Regions from separate parts of the Homo sapiens genome. Here all the other regions are linked to region 6. Evidence: promoter capture Hi-C in 16 types of primary human blood cells and fetal thymus (Javierre and others, 2016). All regions are on one chromosome and are shown on one strand. Each heading gives the region's core, a stretch centred on a gene start or on the middle of the fragment in contact. The rest is flanking DNA. Distances are from core to core; before and after follow the strand shown. Region 1 has its middle 190 kb from the start of LINC01608. Region 2 has its middle 270 kb from the start of RSPO2. Region 3 overlaps EIF3E (eukaryotic translation initiation factor 3 subunit E). Region 4 overlaps EIF3E (eukaryotic translation initiation factor 3 subunit E). Region 5 overlaps LOC105375704 (a long non-coding RNA gene). Region 6 holds the start of NUDCD1 (NudC domain containing 1).

Region 1 (4,626 bases), core at 959-3,458, 1.5 Mb before region 6:
ATATTCTCCAGAATTTCTATTTGGTTCTTTTTTATAGTTTCTATCTCTTTCTTAATATTTTTATTTTGTTCATGCACCATTTTCCTAATTTCATTTAGTTTTCTATCTGTGTTATCATATCACCCTTAGCCCCTTTAGAATAATTACTTGGAATTCCTTGTTTTATATTTCATAGACAGGAGCAGTTTTGGAGATGTTTTTTTTTTTCTTTGATTGGGTCATGCTTCTCTGTTTCTTTGGGTGTCTTTTTATTTTTTGTTATGATTCTTGCCTTTTTAAAAAACAACCTCCTGTCTCAGTCCTCATGAACCAGTTGTATACAGGGAAACACTTCCATAAATCAGCCAAGCTGGAAATTCTGGGGACCTCTCAATTTTTCATGGAGATTCTTCTTCTCTGGGCTTGGAATGTAATTTTTGAATTAGAGAGGTTTGCAGGGTTTTTTCTCTTCTTCCTTTTTTTTTTTTCTTTTTGAGGCTTTGTCGTTTCTTACTTCCCCTGTTGTCTAACTGTGGCATTGTAGATTCTCTGGTGCTACAACAAATCCAGTGAGCTCTCTTTTGTGCTCAGCAACCACAGGCATTCAAAGTATGTGTTTTTTCCCATCAGTGCCATGAAATAGATGAGACAGAAATCAGCTCCTCAGGCATCTAACCCCCAAAGCTAAAACATTTGAAGCATACTCCACTCTTTCCTTTCCCTTCTGAGGAAGCAGCCACAAGTTGGGCTTATCCTCCTCAAATGTGAGCTGTTCTGCTTTGAGGGAGAAACAGTTGAACTGGAACAATTTTCTTGTTCCTTTAAATGAGGCTATTTCTGGCTTTGAGCTTACCTGGTTACTATTAATACAAGAGTTATTAAGAAATTATTTTTAGGCAGCTAGAAAGGGTAAAAGAGTTCTTAGTGGAATTTTCCTTTAATAAAAAGCAGCCCCCAAACCATTTCTGTTCTAACAGAAAGCAGTCTTAAAAGTCAAGCTGCAAGCATAGATATGCAAGCCATCGGCTTTCATATGTAAATGCCAGCAGCTCTACCTAGAAGCCAGGTACATTCAATATGGTAGTTCCTGCTCCTTTTCTCTTGCCACCATGTGTGCGGGTGTCATGGAACCATGGCATCAGCCAGGTAAAACCACGTGTGTAGGTGTCATGGTGACCTTTGGGTAGAAGCCACATTTGCATAATAAAAGATTAGGGTGAGAAGGCCCAGTCTTTTTGTGGGCTATGTAGATGGCACACCTGGTCAAGCCAATCCCCTGAGCCCTAAGTAAATCAATTACTGCCTTCTCAAGCCTCTGTACAAAATCAATTGTGTTCCATCCAAAACCCTGAGATGTCCTCTTGGGCAACTTGCTTTCTCAGCATGAGGAAGATTTCTCTCTTTCTCCTTCTTTGTCAATTAAACTTCCTTCTCCTAAACCCACTCCTCATGTGTGTCTGTGTACTGAATTATTTCTAGGTGTGAGACAACAAACCACAGGTAATTCCACAGACAACAAAGCCATTTCATCTGGGGACTCTTTTGGGATCTGGATCAGAAGGGAGATAGAAACATTGGAGTGGTGAGTATGGAGTGAACCTCAAATCTGTCCTTTAGTCTCAAGACTCTCTTCAAACAAATTTTCTTTCATAGAGAACCTTGACATCATGTGCGGGTGGGAGAAATACTAGAGCAACTGAGGATTTTTGGCCAAAGCACAACATGGCATTATTCAAAGGCCTCCAACAACCCATCTGGTTGTTGGTAATGGATCTCCAGCTATCCTGTCACAAAATTTTCCTTCTTTTCTAACCACAGTTGCTATGTCTTCTATCCTCTCTGTTTATGCAATGTGCAGGAAGTTTTACAGTTCATGTAAACAGTTCTGTTGGGAAAATGCCATAGTACTGGTGAGCACATGATATTTCTCAGCCAATACCACCACCTAATGGAAATAGAAACCCTCTTGATTGGGCACATTGTAGGTCCTTTGCTGTTAATACAGCAGCTTCCCAATTCTCTCTTTTTGTGCCTCTAGAAAAGCCCCTTTTGTGAATAGGAAAGCTCTGCCTTCAACAGTTAGGAGTAAAATGTCCTTTGTAGCCAAATTTTAGTTCCAATACTGTCCCATCTACAGAAGAAATTGCCATTAGGCCTCTACGTTCATTTCAGGCACCTATTCTGTCTCCCAATTAAAATAGTACTTGATTAGGTAAGGGGATTTTAAGTTTAGAATGTAACCGGAACCATTTTCCTTAAGGGTGAATGTTTTAGCACGGGGCCGTAATAGCAGGCAACTAGCACATTCCCTCCGTTAAAGAAGCCTTGCTCAAAAGTGACTATTACAGTCTTTCAGAGATCCATTTTTTCAGAGCCAGGCAGATCACACAAGTTTTGGAAATCAAAATGGATTCACAGGAGGATAACTAAGGCTGTGTGGGTAAAGCGTGGTTAAATCCCATTACTTAGTTCATCCACTTCCATGGCTTGGAGGGCCACACTTGGAACCATGGCCAGGACATTTAACATGGTGCCAGGACTCAGGAACCAAGGAGAGAAAACAGTCAGGCAGATGCTCCCACTGTATTCCACTCCACCCTGGGTCACAGTGAAAGGAGAGAAACTAAAAGGACACTTTTATTCTCATTTATTTTTGTAGATAGGTAACAAACCAACTTCAGCTTGCACCCCACTGGAGTGCACCCTGAAACACTGGTACTCCTTTAACTTCAGGACTTTGAAGAGAAAAGCAACTCATTTTCTTTTGCACAAAGGCATGGCATTTCTACTAAACATTTGCAAGCATTGTAAGGTCAACCCAGCCTTTTTAACAGGCATATCAGGCAGGCCTACAGAGAATAATCCCCCAGAATTAAAAAAGCAACTTCCAAGGGATTCATCTGAGATTCCCCCTTATTTGGGGCCACCTCAAGCTCCCTTCTCATTACAGTCCCTTAGGCAAATAAAGACTTAGACCAATTTTCTGACAACTCCAATAGGTACATAGCTTTTCAGAATTTAACTCAGATGTTTTACCTCAGATAGAAGGATGTTATGCTGCTCCTAATCCAAACCTTAACCACAAATAAAAAGCAGTCAGCTCTGCAGGCAGTAGAGAATTTCAGAGATAAGCAACGTGTCTCCTATAATACACTAAAAGGGAAGAAAGGAGATAGGGAAAGTGAAGAAATAGCAGAAACTCCATTCCCAATAGGGAGTGAAGCAGTTCCTCTTGACAACCTTGATTGGAACCTCAATGGCTCTGCAGATAAATGGAAAAGAAAGGACTTTTTAAAATGCATATTAAAGGGCGTACGAAGAACTAAGGCCAAATCTCTCAATTATTCTAAACTGTGTATGATACACCAAAATTCTGATGAGAATCCTGCAGCCTTTATGGAAAGACTGAAAGAGGCATGAATAGTGCCCACCTCCTTATCCCCCGATTCAGTCAAGGGACAGCTCATTCTAAAGGACAAATTTATGGCACAGGCAGCTCCCAATATTACAAAGAAACTACAGAAGCAAGTTATAGGACCAGAGAGCACCTTAGAGAACCTCCTGAAGGTGGCCACTTTGGTCTTTTATAATAGGGACCAGGAGGAGGCCTAAGAGAAAAAGAGGAAGCTCAGGAGAAGAACAAAGGCTCTAGCAGCTGCTTTGCAGGATTACAAAGTCCAGGACCCCTGAGGTACATCGGCTAGTTGCTATCAGTGTGGCAGGCAAGGGCATTTTAAGGAGTGCCCAAACAGCAAGAGGAAGCCACCTTGACCCTGTCCAGCCTGTGGTGGAGACCACTGGAGATCAAACTGACCCCGGAGGTAGAGGTCACCAGGTTCGGAACCAGTTTCACAGATATTCCAGCAGGACGGATGGATCCCAGGGCTCAAACCCCCGGCTTCAGTAGCTCAAACTGCCATTACAGCACAAGAGCCCTGGGTGATTCTGTAAATTGAAGGAAGTAAAGTAGACCTCCTTCTAAGCTCTACAGCTAGTCTCTGTCTCTCTCTCTTCACTTCTCTAATCCAGGCCTCCCCTCTTCCCATAGCACCATAAGGCGCATCTCAGGAAAAACTCTAATCCAACATTTTTCTCAACCTCTTAGTTACAGTTAGGAGAACCTACTGTTTACACATGCCTCCAGGCCATTGTCACCATGGCTCTACTAGTCAGAAAAGCCTCTAAATTAGCCCTAGGAAATAACTATTTATACCCAACATAATGTGGCAAAATTACTGTACTCTAGGGGGAGCCCTTAGCTCACAAACAGCCAGTAAAGCAAGCGATGCGTAAGGCAGGATATGCACTAGTCACTCTAAATAACATCTCTCTCCAGGCACAAGTGCTCAATTAGCTGGACTAATAGCTCTTACAGAGCAGTTAAATTAAGCACGGGAAAGGTAGTTAACATTCACACTGACTCCAAGTATTCTTTCTTAGTTCTCCATGCTCATGCTGCCATTTAAAAGGAAAGACATTTTCTTACCACTAATGAATCTTCTATAAAATATCACCAGGAAATAAATAGGTTACTGTCCTCAGTTTTCCTTCCACAAGAAATATCAGTGATACATTATATGGAACATCAAAAGTGAACAAATAAAGCAGCCAAAGGAAATAGGTTAGCTAATGAGGCACACAAGTGAG
Region 2 (4,995 bases), core at 2,042-4,541, 1.5 Mb after region 6:
ACCTAACTCTTATTTAATTATGTCAAATGGTGTAGATCATTTTCCCTATAATTTATCTAGCTTTTCTTTCTTCCTTTGTATTCCTCAGTGAAGGAGATATTACTTGACATTTTTGCATCATTAAAAACAATCTATGGTTCAACTTCCTGTTGCCTCATGTGAGACACGTCTGGTCATTATTGAGTTAGCTTACAATTTAAACAAAATATTCAGGAAACTTTTATTCTTTGTTCTACTCAGCATCAAGTCTCTTTAGGACTGCTTAGTGCAACATTTGTACTGCCAGGAACAAGTGAATGACAATTCACACTTAGCAGTCAGTATATGCTGATGGTCAAACAAATGAGGGGGAAGCCCTTGTGTTGAACGGTTTAAGCGATAATCTGAGAAGAACACAGTCTACTTCCAGACTACCTTTGGAGAAAATGGTGAATGCACAGGATTTAGTTTAGTAGTTAAGAGCGTGCCTTGGAGGGAATAGACAGATTTATATTCCAGTTCTTTTATTTTTACTTAAAAAAAAAATGAGGTCTTGTTTTGTTGCCCAGGCTGGTCTTGAGCTCCTGGGCTCAAGAGATCCTCCTACCTTGGCCTCCCAAAGTGGTGGAATTACAGGCATGAGCCACCACACCTGGCCTATATTCTAGTTCTGATACTTACTAGTTGTGTTGCCTTTTTTAAAGTGATTTAACCCCTTTAAGCTTCATTTCCTTTATCTGTCAAATAACAAAAAAATTGTACTTGCCTCATAAAAAACTTGGGAGGATTAAATAATTTACGCATAGCTTAGTCTTAGTACAGTGTCTTGCACACAGTAAACAATAAATAGGAGTTGTTATGATGATAGTTTTGCCTATGTTTTGCCATTAATTTCTAATCCTGCCTAAACAACCTTTTGTAATGTAAATTCTTGGCTTACTATCATGTATCTATGAGATTCTCCTTGGGAAGCCTCTACAATAAGCACTGTAGCCTGAAGAGTGATTAGCGTTTGATGGTCAAAGACATTTCATTCTAAACAAGAGAGGAAAAAGTTTCAAGAAAGACTAGAGTCCACAGTCATGCCCCCTGTTTATTCCAACACTGTAGGTCCTGGCTGTGCCAATGGGAATTGCCCATGGCAGCACAGTGTATGAGGGAGGGAGGAAATCTATGTTTAAATCCTCAAAATGTGTTCTCAGTACCAGTCCTTTGATTTGGATCAAGGACTCAAATGGGAAAAAGAGCCACCTGGTTTACAACAATAAAGAAGCTCCATTACAGACTTTGCAGGAGATGGGAGCAGGGCAGGGGCAGGAGATGAGAGTTTGAAACTAAATGAGCAACTGAAAGGCAGATTAGAACTTTTGTTCCACCATTTCCCAGCTAACTTAATTTGTGGCAAGTCACTGAGCACTGTGGAATCTGTTTCCTTCCTTTCTTTTCTTTTTTTCTTTTCTTTCTTTTTTTTTTTTTTTTGAAACAGGGTCTCGCTCTGTTGCCAAGGCTGGAGTGGGGTGGTGCCATCTCGGCTCACTGCAACCTCCGCCTCCCAGTTCAAGTGATGTTCCTGCATCAGCCTCCCAAGTAGCTGGGATTACAGGCAGCCACCACCAGGCCCGGCTACTTTTTGTATTTTTAGTAGAGATGGGGGTTTCACAATGTTGCCCAGGTTGGTCTCGAAGTCCTGACCTCAAGTGACCCACCCTCCTTGTCCTCCCAAAGTGCTGGGATTACAGGCATAAGCCACCGCCCCCAGCCTGGAATCTGTTTCTTTGACATTTACAGGGAATAACGTGGACTTTGGGGCACATCACAACTTAGTGTGGAGTCTATATATTTGACATTTGTAAGGAATAATGCAACCAGAAATGCTCATTGGGTTGCACTGTCCTGTGAATGTGAAAACCTCATGACAGCAGTACCAACCTGTCCTGCCTATCACTGTGGTCTCTGTGAGCATAGCACAGCCCTCTGTAAATCAATGTTCCCATATTATTTGTTCAAAGAAAGAGTGAGCCAAAGGTACTTATTGCACTTTCTCTTCCTGAACCCCAGACATGTATCTACAACTGCCTAAAGGACATTTCCAACTGAGTGTGTAGAATGTTGCACAAAATCAGTGGGCCAAACTAATCTCTTGCTTTTCACCGCTATAACCTAGTTTTTCTGTGAATGGCGTTGCTAACCATCTTGTTGTTCATGTCAGAAACTCAATGTTCATCCTCGTTTTTTTCTCTTTTTCTCAAACTCCTAGCCATATCTGGAATATGTGCAGCTTTACATACCTCCTCTACCCTTCCCCTGTTTCAGAACTCTGGACTTCCCTGAATCACTGCAACAATCTTTAAGATGGCTTTCCCCACATTCACTCTTGTTCTCCCCCAATTCATTCATGAATGACAGACCCCTGAAATGAAAACATTCAAGTGTACAGTCAAAGCTGAAGAAAGGAGGCATGTGTTATGGCAGGCAGAGTGCTGGAATGGAAGAGAAGAGATCTAAGTTCTGGTTCTGGTTCTATTATTGCCTGGATAAGTCAATTTGGACATTTCTCTGCCTCTATGGCTATTGGCTTATCTATAAAATAAAAACTTTGGATCAGATGATTTCCAAAGATTCTTCAAACATAAAAATTCAATGCTTTTGTTAAAACTGTTTCTAATTCTGGAGCAAAAGACTTTTATGATGCTTTAAAATTGATTTTAATAATAGAGCTGGTTGCAAATGGCTTTAAATATGTATTCCTTAAAGGCTTCTCTCCATGGTGGCTACAAACGGGCTAATCCCCTAATGGGATTATAATTCCAGATACAATCTGGTCATTTGTTCAAATTAATAATTCCAGATACAATCGGGTCATTTGTTCAAATTAAACTTCACTTTTTCTTATCTCAATTTGTAGGTACAAAAGTTGAATGAGATCAACTTTTGTCCCTGTTTTCTTGTAATATAAAGACCTTCAAGGAGTCTTTAATCCACTCAGAAAATAAGTTTCTGTATATTTCTCTCACAAAATAACAATTAATTAGAACTTGACTTAATTGAAAGTAATATGCCCTCAGCTAGCATTATTGATTTAATTAAGAGTTAACAGGATGACATGGTTGCCTTAAATGTGACTGCACCAATAGGGCTCGAGGGATAGAATAAAGAAAATAATGATTTCATATTATTCATTGGTTGGGCAATATCTGGAGTTACTGTGTTCAATCTGAGTACTGTATTTTAGAGGGCACATTGACAAACTACAATGAGTTTGGAGGAGGATACTGTGTTGTTGTAGAATCTACAAACCCTATATGAAACATGGTTGAAGAAGCCAAAGATATTTAAGCTAGAAAAGAAGAAAATTATGGAGGATACCAGAGATCTCAACTTTCTGAGGGACTGTCAGTAGCACAGAGATTTGGCTTCCTCTAGTGCTTCAATGGATATAATATGGGATCTTTGAAACATTGTAGCTCAAACCACACTATTCCTGTGTGTTAACACTCCCGTGACTTTTCATTATTCTTGCAATGAACTCCAATCTTCCTATGACAGACCTTCACCCACTTATGTCTCCATGCCCCTCACTCACTAGGGTCAAGACCTATTAGTTTTTGGTTTTTTGCTTTGTGTTCCTTCAACATACAAAAATTCGAATCCACCTCAAATCTCTTATACTTGCCGTTCCCTAACTAAACAAGGAACTGCATGAACAAATAAAGCATTAGTAGTGGGTACAGATTAAAGACAGCAGATTTTGCTCAATACAAGGAAGAACTGAGCCTCAGAACCCAATACCCAGAGTCCTGGTAGAAAATGAAGATCTGTCCATCTGGAATGATTAAAGAGAAGGCTAATCACTTCCTGCCATGGAAGTTGTAGAAGGTGAATTGGTTGCTTTGCGCTTTATTGGACAGAAACTCATCATAAGTTGCCTTTGGCCCAAAAAGGAATATCCTGGTTTATTTAACTAAAATGTCCCAGCATGGCTAAATCCAGGTAATCAAATAATGTCTCCGGGAACATTATTTGTTCCAACCACAACCTCTGCTTCTCTCTGTTGGCCTCATTCTCAGGCAGGCTGTCTCCAAGAGGAAGCACTGTGGCCTCCAGAAGTTTCAGGACTATATCCTGCCTGATTAGCAATCCCTTAAAAAAAGAGAGTTGCTGTTTCTTAAAAAATTCCAGCAATAGTCCCAGGATTAGCTATATTTGGTTTGGCTTGGGCCACATGTCCACCCTGAGCCAATCACTGCAGCCTGGAGATGAGATAATTTCAACCGCCACTTTTGAGACTGGTGAAAAAACACACCTCTCACAAAAGCCAGAAGTAGAATCAGCTTCACCAGAACGACATGAAATAAAATTGTGGGAGGGATAGTTCTTCAAAATAAAATAAGGGAGTAGCTAACAAAATACCAAAGAAAAGGATGCTGGAAAGACAAGAACATAAGATCTCTGTTAAAAATGATGTTTTAATTAAGGATGTTCAAAATTTATATAACTGCAAAAAGGTTGGATTATCTGACTTCTAACAATATGTTTGATTCTCAGTGTTCTATGATAGAGAGTTGTGGTTTTATTTATTTTTTTTGTCTTTATCTGCTGTGGTCAATGTCTTAGAAAGATCCTGTCCTATCTGATGGCTTGAGATAAAGTCAAAATCGTCTGCTCATGGCAAATGCAGAACAGGAATTAGGGAAGGGGAGAGGTCACTAGAACCTGACTGAGACCAGAATGGGTATGAGTTGTGGAACTTGGCCCAGCTGCAGAGACTGATCTGGAGGTTCCCCTTTGTGAACCAATGAGAAAACACTGTCCTCTTCATCCAGAAATAGTTGGAATCAAACAGCCAAAGTCCTCATGTTACTCCTTGGCAACTTAGAATTTCTTACTCTGAAGCTAAATCTGTCAATAATTTCTTTGAACACTGCTACCTGATTAGGAGTTTACTTCTATAAACTTCTGTAAAATGTATCCAAGTCCCAGCTTGTGAGGACCTTGCTGTTTTCCAGATAGTCTCAG
Region 3 (5,062 bases), core at 934-3,433, 1.1 Mb after region 6:
TGTTGCTTCCTGTTGGCATATTGGCAGGCTAACAGTGCCAAGCTTAAAAGAATAGATATCTTTTTCTTTTGATTTAGATAGCCACTACCACAAGATCTGTGTATTTGTTTGAAGTTTTGTTAATAGCAAATCTAAAAATCTTGTTTGGATTTGGGATGAGAAATGTCAGTGTTTTACTTTTTAGTTAATTAATTTTATTTTTTGCAGTGGCCTTTTTTTATTTCTAAATACTTTTCTGGTGGTTGATTATTCTTTTAAATCTGTGGTTAGGGAAACATAAGCTATGAAAGAGCTATTGTAACTATGATCTGAGATTAGAATTTGACTCTCCAAATGACCTATTGTAGGTCAGTGTTGTATAAATTAAAGCTGTGTGACCCTAGAATCTGCCCTTAAAAAAAAAAAGAAAAGACTCGTGGATTTTAGAATACATTGAGAATTGTTCAGGTACACTCTGTTTGGTGTGAAACTTCTTTGATTTATACTCCAAGAAATGTGTTAATTGAAATAAAATGACGAAGCTGGTTTGGTGGGAATTTTTGAACACTTTTGCTTTAACAGTTATTAGCACTATTGATTATTTTGTTAAAATTTTCCCTCATTGTGGCCTTTGATCTGGCTCCATAATATACCCCATTCCCTTATTCAGCAGCTCTTTGAAATAAAAGTGATTTTAGTTCCTAGGACTATTTGTTATACTTTTGGAGCTGTCTCTTTCCCTCCCTCAGGATGTAAAATGTATTTCCTGTTTGTATATACCACTTCATTTAAAAATATTTTTCCTTGAGGCTCAAGACAGTATGAGTAATGATAATTTTTAGAGGCATTAGGATCTTGATTGAAATTCTGGCTCTGTTGTATCCTGTTGTGATGTCACTGTAAGAATTGTGCATTTAATATTGATCTTCAAGCATAGTTTTGCATATTTTAACATCTGAAATCAGAAAGTGTCTTTACTGGGTTTTTGGTTTTAGAAACATAAAATAATAATGTATGTTAAAATTGATGGCATTTTTGACTCGATGATATATTTTTATATTCAGATATCCTTTATAAGAATTAAACATTTTATCCTTTGTAATTAGAACAATTATTTTATGGATTTTGATAAACCAGTTTTTAAATTTTCAATGAATTTTGAAACATTTGTGTACTTGTGTGGCTACATTAAGTCAAGATAAAGAACATTTCTGTCACCTCAGAAAGACCCTTTTTGTTCTTTTGTGGCCATACTCCACCCATGGTCCTGGGCATCCATTGACCTGCTTTCTGTCCCTGTAGATTAGTTTTGCCTGTTCTAGAATTTTATGTATGTAAGTGGAATGATGTACTATGTATGTTTGTGTTTGGCTTATTTTTACCAGCAAGTTTTTGAGGTTCATGTTATTGTGTGTATCAGAAGTTAGTTTCTATTTATTGCTCAGTAGTATTTCATTCTGTGAATTTACCATGGTCTGTTTAATATATTCATCTATTGATGATGAACATTTAGATTACTTTTCGTTTTTGCCTATTAAAAATAAAGTTAGTATGAATATGCATGTACAAGTTGTATTGTGGATATACTTTGTGATAATAACTAGAACCAGGAGTGGTTCAAAATTTAATTTACACATCTACTCCCTGTGTTATTTGCCTGCTCTTAGTGTGCCAAATGTTATTTAGTACATTTGAAAGGAAGAATCTCAGTATAGACTGAGTTTGTATTGTGGTCCCCAATGTTTAGATCATATATCTGTAAATATGTATACACATTTACATATAGATAAATATAAATTTACGTATGTAAATGTATATGTAAATATATGTAAATCTGTATACCTATCTCTGCGATGATTTTCATCATCATTTCAGTAACTCAGATTTACCAAGTTCTTATTCTGTATCAGGTGATAATTGTAATCCCTGTATGTCTTATGTCACTTAAACTATACAACTGAGGTGGGTTCTATCCCCATGTTGCAGTGAGGAAGCTAAAGTACAAACTAGCTGTTAAGTGGTAGAGACAGAATTCTTGATTGGATTTCTGATCCTGCACATATAATTTAACTTGTAATTATGATATCTCTTGATATTTATACTATTATGTAAAAGTGCTTCTGTAAAAAATTAAATTTGAAATTTCATCTTGAGGTGTAGACATGTATTCTTCCCCCTCTACTGCCCTTACTTGCTTCTATTGCTTTAGCACATCTGATCGGTTCAGAGTCAGTTTACCTACTTCTGCTGCTTTGTTTTGAGGGAGTCCAGCTTTGCTCATTGTTATTAGCCTGGTCATTATGGATGTTTTGAGTTTGTGACTCTTTTACCAGCGGATAGAAGAGGTAGGGATGGCCCTTAGTCCCCTCTTTTTTTAGGTTAAGACTGTGGTGTAAAATTTATAGGTTTCATGATTAGAAGTGTAATTTGGGGCAAGTTACACTCTATATGTATTAGTTCCCATTTTGAAATGGGGATAAAAAAATATAGGGTTTTTGTTAGGATTACAGGAGAACACTAACTTGTATTGCTCAGTACATAATCCTTTGATAACTATTAATTGTTAATCAGTGGGCCTGCTTTTTTCCTGTCTCCCTCTCTCCGTACTGACTTCCATTTGTGTCATAATTTGGAAATATTTTTTGGTTCTGTACATAATTTCTCATTACATTGTAAATGAGACTCACGTGTCTTGATTTTCCACATCTTCATCCTAGTGATTTTAGTGACAAATTACATGTAAATCTAACTTGGTTTCTGAAGTTTTAGGTGCCTGAAATTTGATTAGTTATGTATAAATTATCTGAAGTGGGTTATAGTAAGATGATGCTGCTGTTTCCTAGTTATAAAAGTTATTTTTTATTTTCTTATCTAGACTGATTATTGAAGACCTGAGTATTTTTAGCAAAGGTTTTTTGAAACAAACCAGTGTGATCCAATAAGGACTTAGATAATTACAGTTTTTTGTAGAAAGCTATAGGTCTTTTAGTAGGCTAGAGGGATACATGGGTATAAAACATACATTATGTTCATTTTTCAAGAGTATTCACAATATAATTAATTATGATTTCTTAAACAGGTTCCAGCAACAGATAGAAATGCTTTAAGTTCACTCTGGGGAAAGCTGGCCTCTGAAATCTTAATGCAGAATTGGGATGCAGCCATGGAAGACCTTACACGGTTAAAAGAGACCATAGATAATAATGTGAGTTCGACTTTTTCACAGTTATTCTCTGAAATATCTGTGTATCCTTCACACTTTCTGATGAGGAAAATCACTATGCATTTTGGGAATTAAAAAAAAAAATTCATATTAGCTTTTGTTGACCTTACAAAAATCATAGTGGATTAGTGGCTTGACTAGTTTGAATCTCCTTGAATGAAATTGTCAGACTTCTTTTGGCTCTTAGAGAAAAAACGTAGCCTTCATTTCTGTTTTACAGCTACTGTGCCCTTTTTTTCTATGCCAGTCAAAATGACACTATGCTGTTAGTGCCACCTATTATTGAAAGTCCTATGCAGAAGACAGTTTTCATCTACAATTATCTAATTAAACCACTTACTATGAAATGTTCAGTTTAATTCTTGCTTTTAAAATGTTTTCTGAAATGATTATAATTTATAACTTCTGTAAGAGTTTATAAATTAGAGCGTCTTCAGTAGACATTATTGAATCTGTCTCTAAGAACAGGGTAATAATTTGGAATGTCGAGGGATCATGTAGAGAGAAGGCATAGGGGGTCGGACATTGATCATAATGACCTCCGTGCATGCCTTAGAAGGGGCTCATTTTTAATTACAGTTTTGAAGTTAGTGATGTTTGTCCTCCTGCCTCTTTCTTATATATTAATATTTTTTATGTATATATTTTTAAATCCTTTAGTCTGTGAGTTCTCCACTTCAGTCTCTTCAGCAGAGAACATGGCTCATTCACTGGTCTCTGTTTGTTTTCTTCAATCACCCCAAAGGTCGCGATAATATTATTGACCTCTTCCTTTATCAGCCACAGTAAGTTATTTCACTGTGTAATTTTGGCTTTGTTTAGATAAAATTACATGGAGTTGTTTAAACTTAAAATATACTTTTTTCTATCATTTGAATTTGTTGTCACCTGTTTTTTTTTTTCTTCATGTAGTAGATTTGCTTGTTACTGAAAAGTATGCATGTGACTCTTAAGTAAACTATTTGACAGAGTGTACCCTAAGCCTTTTAAAGTGCTATTTAAAGTGTGGTCCCTGGGCCAGCAGCATAGAAATCATATAGAATCTCAGGACTCACCCTAGAACTAAATTAGAATCTGCATTTTAATAAGATCCCAGGTAACTCATGTAAACATCAAAGCTTTAGAAATGAGGCTCTAGGGCATACTACTTGAAAGGAATACGTGCATCTTTTTATATCATCTTTGCTCTGTCAACTAGCTTTTGTTTAATATTTTGGTGATGAGAAATTCACTGCTTATGAACTAGACCATTCTTTTGTAAGCTAGAAATTATTTGTAAAATTTACTCTTCCAGTGGAACTCAAATACCTCTGAAACTTCTGCCCATTATTTCTTGTTTGTTTGGAATGACAGAAAACAAGACTGCTTCATGGAAACTCTTTAGATGTTTTAAGATAATTTTTTACTCCTCTCTGCTTCCTTCAGGCTAAATATCTCTAGTTTTATTAAGTAACACAGTTTTTCAGACCCTTTAGTATTTTGATTGCCTTTTTAGATAATTTCTATTCATATTCTTACAATCTAGATGTTCATAATTGAAATTTTATTCTAGGATTGTCATCTAAACTTTATAGATTACAGTGGCAATATTAGCTCATGTTACTTGTATGTATGCTTTTACTAATATAGCCTAAGATTGCAGTAGCAATTTTAGCAGTTGCTTCATGGTATGAGTTATATTGTATTGACTATATTATTGGGCAAATTTTACAATAACACTTTTTTTTTTAGATAATGTCTGGCTGTGTTGCCCAGACTGGAGTGCAGCGGCATTATCTTGCCTGACTGCAGCCTCTACCTCCCAGGCTCAAGCCATCCTCCCCCGTCAGCCTCCCAAGTAGCTGGGACTACAGGCACATG
Region 4 (4,955 bases), core at 88-2,587, 1.1 Mb after region 6:
GGATGAAAGATTTGTTTTTGCTTTGTCTTTTGAAATAGCACTTAAGAATTCTGTGCATATCTTATTTAACATATTCGATGTTGTGTTTTGTGTGTGTGTCAGTTGAGCAGCAGAGCTAGTTAGGTTAAAGATATTTATAAAGGATTTACAGAACATATTTAAGTATCTACCTTAAGCTGCCTACAGACAAGGTTGAGATTTTTAGTGTAATCTAAATAATCTAGAAATTTGGGTGTTTAAAATCTGGATTGGACTAGATATTTTTCTCAGAAATTCTGCATTTTGATGGATTTTGTCTTTTAGTTTATTAATAAATTGAATTATTTTCAGTAACATGAGGCAAGCATGTTCTGGGATAGGTTACGCCAACTTTTTGTCTTTTTAAAATTGGTTTTATTTCTCCCTAGCCACTAGACCACCAGGGACAGCCTTTTAAGCTTTGATAGGATATTACACTTTTATTTTAATATCTGTAGACTTTGATGATTTCTATTAGTCCTTTTTTTTCCTTTGCGTTTTGTAGAGACAGGGTCTTGCTGTGTTGCCCAGGCTGGTCTGAAATTCCTGGGCTCAAGCAGTCCTCCTGCCTCGGCCTCCCAAAGTGCTGAGATTACAGGCCTATTAATCATTTGGTTTCTTTTACTGAGTGTATTTTCATGTTACTGAAACCAGATTATTTCTACATTCTTTAATTCAGTCAGAGTGATAATCAGCAGCTTAGATAAACTGAGATGCCATCAATTATTTACTAGTATTCCTTGGGCCTTATTTCAGGTTTTTCTTTGACCTGATTCACTTCGAAAAGTAAAGATCAACAAATAAAAGATCAACAAGCACAGTGCAAACAAAGATCCACAAAGTAAGATATGGCTCAGAGCGTGCAGGCATTTATGGATCTTGATGCTTGTTGCAAAATTACACCAGCTATGTTGGAATGAGTCTTAGAATATGGATGTAAAGAAAGAGAGAGGGATAGAGAATTCTAGTTAGAGTTATTACATAAGATGGAATTTTTTTTTATAAAGACACAGGATCTTGTTCTGTCACCCAAGCTGGAGTACAGTGGCGCAATCATAGCTTACTGCAGTCTGAAACTGCTGGGCTCAAATGATACTCACACCTTAGCCTCTCGAGTATCTGGGACTATAGGTGCAGGCCACTGTACGTGCGTGCGTGTGTATGTGTGTGTGTGTCTGTGCGACCATGCCAGTGTGTGTGTGTGTGTGTGTGTGTGCACATGTGCACAGAATCTTGCTGTGTTGCTCAGACTGGTCTCAGACTTCTGGCCTCAGCCTCCCAAAGTGTTGGAATTATAGGTATGAGCCACCACATCCAGCCTAGAATGGAATTTTCACTCTATGGTCTTAAAAATCTAAGATTAAATATCATTTCCTTAGGTAAGCTGTTCCCAAATCTCCAGATTAGAACTGGTAGACCTTTTTGCATTTCACATACATAGGTCCTTCCACTTTTTCTTTTTTCTTTCTTTTTCTTTTTTTTTGACATGGGGGTCTCACTTTGTTGCCCATGCTGGAATGCAGTGATGCCATCTCAGCTCACTGTAACCTCTGCCTCCCAAGATCAAGCGATGTTTAAGTCAAGACCCCCTTGACTTAAACTCTGTAAAGGCTGGCAACAGAGGATGTTTTGCCAGTAGCATCTAACACGGTTGGTATTTTGTTGAGTAAATGTCAACAAAGTAAAAGGATTGGTTTGGTTTGGCTGGCATGTTATATTTATGAAGGAGAATGATGGGAACTTGGAAAGTTAAAAGTGTTGAAAGGAATTTGGAAATAAACTGGGTATAGTAGTCTCCCCTTACCCAAGGGGATATGTTCCAAAACCCCCAGAGGATGCTTGAAACTGCAGGTAGTACCAAACCCAATACAGACTAGGTTTTTCCCTGTGCACACATAACTATGATAAAGTTTAATTTATAAGTTGAGCACAGTAGAAGATTAACAACAACAATAATAAATAGAACAATTATAACAATATGCCAGCATCACTACTCTTGTACTTTGGGGCCATTACTAAGTAAAAAATGGTTCCTTGAACATAAGCTCTGTGATATCAAGACACTTGATAGCTGGAATAGCTACTATGTAACTGATGGGCGGGTAGCGTATACAGTGTCGATATGCTGGACAAAGGGATGATTCAAGTCCTAGGTGAGACAGTAGGACAATACAAGATGTCATCATGCTAGCCAGAACAGTTTACAATTTAAAGCTTATCAATTGTTTATTTCTGGAGTTTTCTATTTAATATTTTCAGACTGGGATTGACTGCTGATAACAGAAACCACAGAAAGTGGAACTACGGATAAGTGGGAACTACTGTAGTTGGGTTGTAGAACTAACCTGGCAGATGTGTAAGATAGATTGTAGAGACTCAAGAGGTAAAGTAGTTAGAAAACTAAGAAATAGTAATGGAGCCTGGACTAGGGTAGTGACTAGAATAAGAATCAATCAGACAGTAAATATTTATCGTCTCCTGTGTATGAGGAGTCATGCTGCTAATTGCTGGACATAACGGCAGTGAATGAGGAAGATACGGTGCGTGCACTTTGGTTACATGTATACGGTCTACCTTGGAAGCAGATATTCAGTAAAACAACTATAGCAAAAATAGGTGCTATGAAAGCACCTAACTGATGTATCACAGATGGGAGAGGTGTCTTAGAAGGCTTATGAGGGTCTTATTTTAGCTGAGACCTGATAGCTTCCATGAAGATAAAAGACAGTATATAAACACACATACATACATGCATGTATACTACATACTCTTAAATATTTTACATGCATATGTAGGTACTCTTCCATCAGCGGAACTGACTTAACCTATTTACTAAGACTGGTGTGTTTTTAATTCTGATAAATTAAGCTCTGCAATGGCCCTCTTCAACCTGATCATAAAATTGGAAAAATACAAAATGCAGATTGGTTGATATCAAAGAGTATTTTAGATCAAGATCTTCATGGTCTGGTCTGCTCCCTCTGTCTCTTTTATCTGAAATTCAGTCTCTCTCTCTCTCTCTCTCTGTCTCTCTCTCTCTCTCTCTCTCTCTCTCTCTCTCTATATATATATATATACATACATACTATATATAGTATATAGCTCCAGGGAGTGCCCCCACAGTTTATAGCACAAATATACACAATGCCCGTCAGTTTTATTTATGTTTTCCTGAGATTATACTTATTACTGATGCTCTTTATAGTAGGCTTACTTTTTTAAAAATTTTATTTCAGTAGCTTTTGGAGTACACGTGGTGTTTCGTTACATGGATGAATAATATAGTGGTGAATTCTGGGATTTTAGCTCATAGCTTAGCTCCCACTTATAAAGGAGAACATAAGGTTTTTGGTTTTCCACTCCTGCATTACTTCACCTAGAATAATGGCCTCCAGTTTCATCCAAATTGCTGCAGAAGACATTATTTTCTTCCTTTTCATGGCTGAGTAGTATTCCATGGTTTATATATACCAGATTTACTTTATCCACTCATTAGTTGATGGGCACGTAGGTTGGTTCCTAAGTGAATTGTGAATTGTGCTGCTGTAAATATATCTGTACAAGTGTCTTTTTCATATGTCTTCTTTATCCAAAGAAACCTTTATACAAAGGTTTACTTTGTATAACCATTATATAGTTGTCCCTTGATATCCTTGGGGGACTGGTTCTAGGACCCTCCTGGATGCCAAAATTCATAGATTCCCAAGTGTCTTAAATAAAATGGGGTGATATTTTCATATAACCTATGCATGTTATCTCATATACTTTTAATCATCTCTGGGTTACTTTTAAAAATGTAAATGCTATGTAAATAGGTGTTATACTGTATTGGTTTTTCATTTGTATTATTTTTGTATTCTTTTTTATTGTTTGTTTGCTTTTTCCCAAATATTTTCTATCTATGGTTTGTTGAATCTGAGGATGTGGAACCTGTGGATATGGAGGGCTGACTTATATAGAGGGAACATCATAAAACCTTTTTCTCCCTTAGATCATTACTTCTTGAGCACCTGGCAAATGTAAAGTACTGTTCTAGAAGCTGAAGGATTTCCGTAAATGCAGAATATGTTACCCTACCCTCAAGGATTTTACAGTCCAGTTGGTGAATGGAATAGGTCGTGCATAGTACAAGTCAATAGGCACAAGCACATGAACAAATCAGACAGTAGGGGTCATGGTATATAAGAGAAGGGTGATCCAGAAATACCAAAAAGTATCTATGCAGAGTGTGAGTCAACACTGTGTACATAAAACTAAGTTTTTAGGCCCAGTTAATTAACATTGCTGTTTTTACTTTTTCATTAGCATGTTGGCAGATAAATTGAACATGACTCCAGAAGAAGCTGAAAGGTGGATTGTAAATTTGATTAGAAATGCAAGACTGGATGCCAAGATTGATTCTAAATTAGTGAGTATTATGTTAGCTATGCTACATACTATCAGTTCCTGATTATACTTTTGGGAATTCTTAACTAGGACATTTTATTACCTCCTTTAATAATTTATTTTGTTTTAATGTAAAACAGTTCTTTGAAGGCAACAGAAGCCTCCTATTTTTTTTCTTCCTTGGTAAATATTGTCATCTCTATACAGTGCATTAAAATATGCGCAAAGGTATGTCATGCTTTTTACTTACCTGAGAAACTCAGTCATTAACATTATAGGATCAATTTCCCTGTGTTTCCTTTTAGGGTCATGTGGTTATGGGTAACAATGCAGTCTCACCCTATCAGCAAGTGATTGAAAAGACCAAAAGCCTTTCCTTTAGAAGCCAGATGTTGGCCATGAATATTGAGAAGAAACTTAATCAGAATAGCAGGTCAGAGGTAAGAACCACACATCTTCTATTCTGTCTGGGGTTTAGCAACCATGTAATTGTTACATGAAGTTTCAAAGTGTATTGATGAGTTGTAGCTGATTTTGTTTTTCTCTTTAAA
Region 5 (4,433 bases), core at 1,222-3,721, 1.1 Mb after region 6:
ATCAACATTCCGTAATATCTCCCACCTTAAAAAGGAATCCTTTGTGCCTTTTGCTTTAAGGTACCTTCTTTACCTCTCCTTCCCATCTATAGAAAAACATCTTAAAAGCATCCATACTCGCCATCTTCACTTTCTTTCCTTCTATTTTAGTCTTTCTTCACCTCCACGCCACTGAAAATACATTCTTCAAGGCCATCAATTCTTTTTTTTTTTTTTTTTTTCAATAGAGACAGGGCTTAGCTATGTTGCCCAGGCTAGTCTTGAACTCCTGGGCTCAAACAACCCTCCTGCCTCCTCCCAGAGTGTTGGGATTACAGGCATGAGCCCTGTGTCTGGACATCATTTCTTCAGCTGGAGTGCAGTGGCACAATCATAGCTCACTGCAACCTCCAACTCCTGGGCTCAAGAAATCTACCTACCTCAGCCTCCCAAGTAGCTGGGACTATGGGTGCACACCACCATACCTGGATAATTAAATTTATTTATTTTTTGTAGAGATGGGGGTCTCACTGTGTTGGCCAGGCTGGTCTTGAATTCCAGGCCTCAAGTCTTCTTCTTGCCTCCGCTTCCCAAAGTGCTAGGATTATAGATGTGAGCAACTGTGCCCAGCCAAGTTAATTAATTCTTATTGAATCTAGTAGTCTATTCTCACTCCTTAACTTATTGTACCTTTCTTGGAGCAGCATTTGATAATAATTGATCAAACTCTATTTCTTGAAATGCTTTTTTCTTTTGGCTTCAGCAACATTACACACTTTTTTTTCCCTCCTCATAACTGACCACTTCCTTTTTGGTCTCCTTTTCTACCTTTTTCTTCTCTTCTTGGCTGCTAATTGTTTAAATGACCTAAAGATTGATCTTCACTGAAATTTAAGGTTTCTTTATTATTGTAGCATAGATCTTTGAGTTCTGTGGATCTAGAGATTCTGCTTTCCAAAGGAGAACATTTCCACTAGGGGCGCATCAAGAGTCCAGTTGAACCATGAGCCAAAATAAACCACTTTTCTTTATAAATCACCTAGTCTCAGGTATTCTTTTCTAGCAACACAAAAACATACTAACACACATGGCATTTTATGAGGTCAACAATCAATCTATATATATAAATGTTTGTTTGTTTTTTAAGAGACAGGGTCTCCCTCTGTTGCCCAGGCTGGAGTGCAGTGGTACAATTATAGCTCACTGCAGCCTCCAACTCCTGGGCTCAAGGGTTTATCCTGCTTCAGCCTCCCAAGTAGCTGGGATTACAGGTGTGAGCCACTGCATCTGAATTCATATTTGTGTTAAAAATGAATGAATGACACAGAAACAGGCTTCTGTATGTCACAGGAAAATATGTATGTGGCATGGATTTGAAAATAGGGATTTTGGAGTTAGACTGTTCTGGAATAGAGACTTATCTCTATTTTTAACAAGAGCTTTGTGAAATGATGTTGGGCAAATTTATTAACCACTCCAAGCTTCATTTTCCTTATAAAATTTATACGGAAAGTTATAAAATGGAAAAGATAATAACACCAATTTCATAAGATTGCTATAATAATTAAAATAATACTCATAATGGACATGTTATCATTAAATATTGGTCTCATTTGCTGCAACCTACCAGGCAGCAGACAGAATGCTGAAGACTTTTACTTGTAATTCTCATTCAGTCCTCCAAATAAATCTGACAAGTTGATGGCAATTCCATGAAGATTAAACAACAACAACAACAAAGTTAGACTCACAGAATTTATTTAATTCATGTGATGATACAGTGTGTTAGTCCGGATAGTTTATGCCAAGCTGCAGGAACGAACCAACCCTAAAATTTCAGTGGATTAACTAATAAAGGATTGTTCCCAACACACACAAAGTATGCTGTAGGTCCCGTGGTTCTTCTGAGTACCTTCGATCCAACTTTTCTTCAGGGATCCAAGGCTGCTGGGTCTTGAATCTAGAACATCTTGAACACATGGTTCTAGTTCACTGCAACAGGCAATGAGTGACCTGGAGAATTGTGTTTGGCTTTTAAGTATATTAGTCAACTGACATAACAGCATTTGTAAAACCATAGCACTGGCCAGAACTAGTCATATGGCTCTGCCTAATTTTAAGGAAGCTGCAAAATGTGGGAGAACCTAAACCTGTTTAGTGAATAGTAAATATTTCTGCCACATCTGGCTGGTAGACTGGATTCAAAATGGCAGTATATATGCTTCATATCCTCCAAAGCTATGTTTGCCAAATAAAATATATGATGCCCAGTTAAATTTTAATTTCAAATGAACGATGAATAGCTTGAGTATGAGTATATCCCATGCAATGTTTGGAGCATATTCAGAGTAAAAAATTAAGTGTTATCAGAAATTCAAACTTTTATTTGCTAAATCTAACAACTTTACCCAAGGGCCATATGTTTCAGACATGACTAAAACCTGTTGCTAATATGAAGTGAAGAATTATTCCCCCTACCTAAAGGTATTTACAATCATATTTTAAAATTTCCAGCTAATAGGAGCACATCTGCAGATTAAACTTTGCTAGCCACTTGCCAATTCAGCTCACTATATTATAGGGGTTTTTTAAAAGCCCTAAAATTAAAAAAAAAAAAAAAAGACTTGGATCTCCGTAACCTCCATCACCAACTGAGAATATGGCTAGCCTTCTGTAACTTACTTAGGTTGCCTAAGTTGCCTCTTTCTTTATTTGTAAAATTTGACTTGAAAAACACCAAGGGTAGCTTGTCCCTCATTAAATCTATTTTCTTATGATTCTATTGTGTTACGTCATAGTATTGTGTCAGGATATTAGTAAAAACATACCACAAATAACACTTCTGAGTATTCTGTCTCTCAAAGTAACCTCCCCAGGTGAGGTTATTCTGATGATAATATTGTAGCTTAAATTGTTTTTAGAAAATATAGCAGCATATTCTTTTGAGTATCCTCCTCTGGTGGCAAATTATTTTTCCACAAAGGTAGACTTGATTTTTGGAACCAAATAGAAGTTATTCAAAGTCAAGTCAATGAATGGTCAAACTGAAAAATAAATGTACATTATGGAATAAAAACTAGGTGAGTTTATCAGATAAATGAAATTGATTTATTTTTGAGACTCTTTAATGCTCCATTTAAAAGCAGTTAGTTTTAAGGCAAGTTTAAAAATGAGTTTTGAGCAATGATCACATTGCTGGAATAAGTGCATTGCTTCCACTTTTGAAGGAACTCACACTCAATGGGTAATGAGCTCTGTAAGTTGATTACAAAAAGTAACCCTCTATCAAGAAACCAGTGATTGATTGCTATTCATGATAAAGTATTGAAAATACAATTCCACATGATTTATTACCTAAATGCTCTTGAAAATGACTTTTATCCTGGAACAAAGCTCCTTTTTGGTGAACTTTTCAACTATGTTTAATAAAAGAAATACTCCATACTGGTGGTTTTCTACCTCCCAACAAAATACATACATACGTACGTATGTATAAAGCTTTTCTGATCTTATTCATGAAATCATTTTTTAAAAGTTCACAAATCCATACATCAAAGATTATGTGACAAATGAAGAAAGTGGAATAAAAAGTTTTTTTTTTTTCATGGAAATGTTCATTGGTCAAAATTGAAGATTAACTTTTTACACCAAAATGCAAAGATTTGAAAAATGAAACATATTTCTAGAGAGAAACAAGACAGACATAAGCAAATAGATCAAAACACAAGTTTGGCCATTTTTCTGGACATAGACCAATAAAGTATGTTTTATTGAAACAGCTACTGATAGTACTTAAGATTATCAAGGGCACCTCTGAGTGGTCCCTACCATTGTTTTTCTCATTTCTCCCTAACTCCAACTTTCTCTTTGCTTTCCTTTTTTTATTTTATGGGGTGCACCTATGTTACTGCACGGTGTCTATGCATGCACACACAACACACACATATGTATTGTGTGGTGTCTATGCATGCACACACAACACACATATACGTTATTGCATGGTGTCTATGCATGAAGACACAATACACACATGTGTTTAAGAACATTAAAAATTCAAAGTCATTTTGGAGCACAATTCTGAAATACTTATCTTAAAATGTTTAAATTTTACATACCATGAACTAACCATTCTAATTTTAGGAATTTATCTTCATAAAACTGTAGTGGACTGAATTGTGTTCCCCTAAAAGACATGTCCATGTTCCAACCCCAGGAATTTGTGAATGTTACTTTATAAGGAACAAGGGTCTTTGAAGAAGATATAATTAAGGATCTTGGGATGATGAGATCATCCTTGATTATCTGCGTGGGTCCTAAACCCAATGACAACTGTCCTTATAAGACAGAGGCAGTGGGAGAACACACAGACAAATGAGCAGGAAGCAATGAACAGGGAGGAAATGCATCCACAAGTCAAGGAATGCCAACAGCCATCAGAAGCTTGAAAATCCAAG
Region 6 (4,364 bases), core at 451-2,950:
GAGCTCCAAAACTGAACATAACTGCCGATCACTTCTGCAGAGACTGCATCCAAAAATTGGGAGAAGTCATACATACTAAACATCAAAAAAAGATTAAATACTATTAGTAAAAAAATAAAATTACCAGGCCGGGCACAGTGGGTCACACCTGTAATCCCAGCACTTTGGGAGGCCCAGGCAGGTGGATCACGAGGTCAGGAGTTCAAGACCAGCCTGACCAAGATGGTGAAACCCCGTCTCTACTAAAAATAGAAAAATAAGCTGGGCTTGGTGGCAGGTGTCTGTAATCCCAGCTACTCAGGAGGCTGAGGCAGGAGAATCGCTTGAACCCAGGAGACAGAGGTTGCAGTGAGCCGACATTGCGCTGCTGCACTCCAGCCTGGGTGACAGGGCAAGACTCTGTCTCAAAAAAAAAAAAAAAAATTAATTAATCAAAAAAAATAAAATTACTAGATAAGGCTCTAAGTGTTTTGCTTTACTCTTCACTAGGATGAACCCACAATTACAACTGCTAAACCTAAGTGTGTGGATGTGTGTGTTTACACACACACTGCTGGTGGGATAAGAAGAAAACAAATCTCAAACTAATTCCTAACTTACAAAGTCCTCAATTGTCAGTAAAAACAGACAACCCAAACCAAAATGATGTTGAAAGAAGAGGAAAGTTAGGTTTTGAAAGCGTTAAAGCCACTTAAAAGTTTAAATTAAATAAAACTTGGCGTAAACTAACGTTTTCCCACCTAATCTGTCACTAACTTGAGATTACTTTTGTTGTCTTCCATCTGGCCTATTGAAAATTCAGACTGGCAATGAGTTACCAGAGTTGATTTTTTTTTTCTTTTTTGAGAGGAACAGGGAAAAGGAGAAGTTGAGTGAGAACTAGGAAATGCTTGCTTTTGTAATTGGAGGCTAACATTTTCAAAATAACTACAAGGTCTAGTCAGTACCACTCCTGGAATATTGAACTTGATCTCGTCTTGGCTCCTAAAATACGGATAGTGACCTTGGACAAGTCACTTAATTCTTAAAGGCCTCAGTTTTCTCACTGGTAAAACAAGGGCGCTAGGGTATCCCTCCCAGTTCAGACATTCTTAGGGAAAATAGAACAGGGCGGAGACAGCGGGAGAGGCGGGAGAGGAGGAGCCAGAAAACAAAGCGAGGACTGGTTTCAGGCCAACTCCGGTAGCACGCCCTGTCGGAGAGCCCTACAGGCCCGCGAGCGCGGGTCGGGGACGCTAACGAAAGACAGTACATCGAAAGGAGCCTGGGCTGGGCCCGGGTCCCGGCCCTGAGGACCACGGGCATAGCTCACCACCATCACCGCGGGCGAGGGCCGTCCCTTCCCAGCGACGAAATGACCCTTGCGCTGAGGACCGTTACCTACCACACTCTTCGGCTGCCCGGACTTAGACCCTCAGTAGCTCGGGCACCTAAGCACACAGAAAGCTAGAACACGCATTTCCGGGGCGGGGTCTCGCCACCCTGCCTATAATGTGAGAATTTAACCAGCGCGGGCCGCCTCCTGGTTGCTAGGGCCTCTGGGTAACAGAGTTCAGACCTTGCCGTCGCGCGCGCGTTAAGTACCAGGAGAACTACATAGCCCAGCATGCAACAGTCTCAACTTTTTCACGGACACTACATTTCCCAGAAGGCAGTTCGCACCGCAGTGTTTTCTGGGATGGGAACCACGCCGCTTCCCAGTCTCTGTGCGAGGCGTGAAGCGCGGACCTTTCAACAAGGGCTTTATTAATTCTCACGCTGCGGCCCTGGAAAGCGATGGAGGTGGCGGCTAATTGCTCCCTACGGGTGAAGAGACCTCTGTTGGATCCCCGCTTCGAGGGTTACAAGCTCTCTCTTGAGCCGCTGCCTTGTTACCAGCTGGAGCTTGACGCAGGTGGGAAGCGGCGGCGCCCTTCGTACTCCGTTCCTTTCCCCTTTCGGCTGCCTCCGGCCTGACCCTTCCCGCAATTTCTTTCTTTCTGACTGGCAAGCGAAGCCACCGTGGCGGCTTGCGTGGACTCACGGAGGCCGCTGCTTCTGGGGAATGATGCCCATCCCAGAACCCGGTGGGAGCCGCCTTCGCGCGCTCTTCGGTAACGGGACCCTGGGCCCCCTCCGTCAGCAGCCCAGCCTCTGAGGTCTGAGGTCTGAGGGCTGGCGTGCGGGTAGTGCCTGGGGCTCTGGCTGCTGTGTGTCCACAGCCTGGCTTCTGTTTCGGGGGACGCTGAGAACATTCCTTCCTCCTGGAGCATCGCTTGTGAACGTGTGCGTTGAGAAACCACACCTCCTTGGAGGACCCCCAGTTCCTGTTTCCTCTGACCGAGAGCCGTTTCTTAGAAGAGAAACTACATTCCAGTCATAGCATTTTTAATTACTCAGTTCCTGGCACATTAAGAACTCTGGTAGAGAACATCTCTAGAAGATAGTGAGGAAAAGTGGATTTACTCCCACACTGCTACTCCTTGCTTTATCTGTAGCTGGTAGAATATCCTTACTCTTGTTTTTACAACTTAACGGCATTTTCGTTATGATAGAGCCCAGAGATCTGCATTTTAAAATTCACACCCCTGCTGATTCTGATGCATGTTTTCAGAGATCACACTTTGAGAAATAGTGATCTACAGTTAATTATAATAACAGACATTAAAGTATAAAATAAGTTTATGCTAATTGATTTATTAAATTCAGAAATATTTACCGAGTACCTGTTTTGTGTTACGTCCTGATAATATCAAAATGAACAAGACACCTTCCGTAACAAAAGAGGACTATTAGCTAGTTAGGAAGAAAATTGTAAACAGATAATTGTAAAACAATATGGGAAGGCAGTGATAGGGATATGTACAAAATACAATGGTAGTACTTGAATATCTTTCCTAAACTAGTCTGGGGATCTGGGAAGGCGTCTTGGAGGAGTTAATATCTAAGTTGAGCTTTGAAGGGTAGGTTAAGAGTTGACTAGGATGAGAGAGGATAAGCTTGATTTTTCTTTTTATTTTTTTCCTTTTCCTCTTTGCCACCGTGTTTCTTCCAGTCACCCCATGTCAGTAGATGGTATCACCATGTTTAGTTAGTGCATTAGAAAGTGAAGCCAAAATTCAGTGTCTCAAAACAAGAAGCAGTTATTATTGCTCACAAGTCTACGGGTCAGCTGAGTGGTTCTTCTAGTCCTAGTTGGGCTCATTGATGCATCCTTGTTCAGTAATGGATCTGCTGGGAAGCTCTGCTCATTTGGCTGGACTTCCTCATATGTTTGGAGGGTGGGGGTAGGGTCTCAGACTATAAGCTTGTTTAAGATTCTTTCACATGGTCTCCTCTTGACTTTTCTCCGTGTGGTCTCTTATCCTTTAGCCGACTAGACTAGCCCAGGTTGGTACCAAGAGACACTTGTGCCAGAGTCATTTGGGGTTTATTTCTTTTAGCCACTGTCTGCTTGGTAGCAAGTCCGGTCAGCTCCACATTTTGATATCTCTAGGCCTCCACCCTAATCCAAATCAGAGTTATCTCTTACCTGAACTCTAGTAGCCTCCTGACTAGCCTTCCTGCCTTCACTTTTGGGCTTCGTCATTGCATTCTCCATAAGACGTACTTATCGGCCTTTTAAATTCTATCTTGATTTGTTGTCTGTTTCCTCCACTAGACTATGAGTTCCTTGAAAACAGTGATGTTTTTCTTTTGTTCACTACCCTATATCTAGTGCTTGGCACATAGGATGTATTCAATAAAATGAGTATATGAAGAAGAGAAGAAATTGTTGAGGTCATTCCATTCATGGGAAAGCATGAGGAAAGGGAAATAATTAGTAGGTTGTATGCTGGACATCCTTGCACTCTTATATTGCTGGAGCAAAACGTCTGGGAAAGTGAGAGGAAATAAATCAGTGAGGGCCTTGTTTGCCTTTTGGATTTCTTGGATTTCCGGTCATTCAGTGTTTCCCTGACATTTTTGTATTGAGCCATTACAATATAAAATAAAACTCAGCTGCTGTAGTTCTGCCAACTTTTCTGTTTACTAGGTGGAGATGTTTCTTAAAAACTATCATTTACTCATCTATCTTTTCATAAACAAAAGGATATTTTAACACCAAAAAAGCAGGAAGCAAAATCTCACAATAAACAATCCATTGAATACTTTAACTTTAGAAAAAATTCACAAAGTTGTCCTTGTTCCGTACTCATTTCATCAGCGTTAATCTTAGATTCTGTGTTTGGGATGTACAGCTGCAGGATATCAGGTGCCATTTGAAGATTTTTTTTTTTTTTTTTTTTTTTGAGTCTGAGTCTTGCTCTATTGCGGAGGCTGGACTGTAGTAGTGTGATCTCGTCTCATTGCAACCTCTGCCTTCCGGGTTCAGGCGATTCTCC

The links. Contacts are between HindIII fragments. The CHiCAGO score rates a contact against its expected background, and 5 or more counts as called.
Region 1: a fragment that was not itself captured here is called in contact with the fragment with the promoter of NUDCD1 in region 6 in 1 of 17 cell types (M2 macrophages); the score reaches 7.0 in M2 macrophages.
Region 2: a fragment that was not itself captured here is called in contact with the fragment with the promoter of NUDCD1 in region 6 in 1 of 17 cell types (M2 macrophages); the score reaches 5.4 in M2 macrophages.
Region 3: a contact is called between a fragment that was not itself captured here and the fragment with the promoter of NUDCD1 in region 6, in 8 of 17 cell types (total CD4 T cells, naive CD8 T cells, fetal thymus and 5 more). The highest score is 14.4, in total CD4 T cells.
Region 4: a fragment that was not itself captured here is called in contact with the fragment with the promoter of NUDCD1 in region 6 in 5 of 17 cell types (total CD4 T cells, naive CD4 T cells, total CD8 T cells and 2 more); the score reaches 10.1 in total CD4 T cells.
Region 5: a contact is called between a fragment that was not itself captured here and the fragment with the promoter of NUDCD1 in region 6, in 2 of 17 cell types (total CD8 T cells and naive CD4 T cells). The highest score is 7.0, in total CD8 T cells.

Annotation. Positions count from the first base shown.
Region 1 is chr8:110,832,186-110,836,811 of GRCh38, reverse strand. No RefSeq gene overlaps it. Among named protein-coding and RNA genes, the nearest start is that of LINC01608, 190 kb to the left of the region's middle. RefSeq lists an enhancer at 4,065-4,566. The HindIII fragment of the contact is 4,863 bases long and covers 1-4,626 here.
Region 2 is chr8:107,808,222-107,813,216 of GRCh38, reverse strand. No RefSeq gene overlaps it. Among named protein-coding and RNA genes, the nearest start is that of RSPO2, 270 kb to the left of the region's middle. The HindIII fragment of the contact is 5,175 bases long and covers 704-4,995 here.
Region 3 is chr8:108,227,192-108,232,253 of GRCh38, reverse strand. It overlaps EIF3E (eukaryotic translation initiation factor 3 subunit E), which reads left to right. Exons shown (of 13, transcript NM_001568.3): 6 at 3,059-3,184; 7 at 3,863-3,987. Among named protein-coding and RNA genes, the nearest start is that of EIF3E, 19 kb to the left of the region's middle. The HindIII fragment of the contact is 4,278 bases long and covers 45-4,322 here.
Region 4 is chr8:108,202,872-108,207,826 of GRCh38, reverse strand. EIF3E (eukaryotic translation initiation factor 3 subunit E) reads left to right here. Exons shown (of 13, transcript NM_001568.3): 11 at 4,324-4,426; 12 at 4,710-4,844. Among named protein-coding and RNA genes, the nearest start is that of EIF3E, 43 kb to the left of the region's middle. The HindIII fragment of the contact is 1,795 bases long and covers 440-2,234 here.
Region 5 is chr8:108,271,046-108,275,478 of GRCh38, reverse strand. All of the region lies in intron 2 of LOC105375704 (a long non-coding RNA gene), which reads left to right. Among named protein-coding and RNA genes, the nearest start is that of EIF3E, 25 kb to the right of the region's middle. The HindIII fragment of the contact is 2,017 bases long and covers 1,463-3,479 here.
Region 6 is chr8:109,331,423-109,335,786 of GRCh38, reverse strand. It overlaps NUDCD1 (NudC domain containing 1), which reads left to right and starts at 1,700. Exons shown (of 10, transcript NM_032869.4): 1 at 1,700-1,894. The coding sequence starts at 1,777. It overlaps ENY2 (ENY2 transcription and export complex 2 subunit), which reads right to left and starts at 1,440. Exons shown (of 5, transcript NM_020189.6): 1 at 1,313-1,440. The coding sequence starts at 1,318. RefSeq lists enhancers at 1,159-1,408, 674-1,596, 1,779-1,828, 1,959-2,008. The HindIII fragment of the contact is 6,990 bases long and covers 1-2,980 here.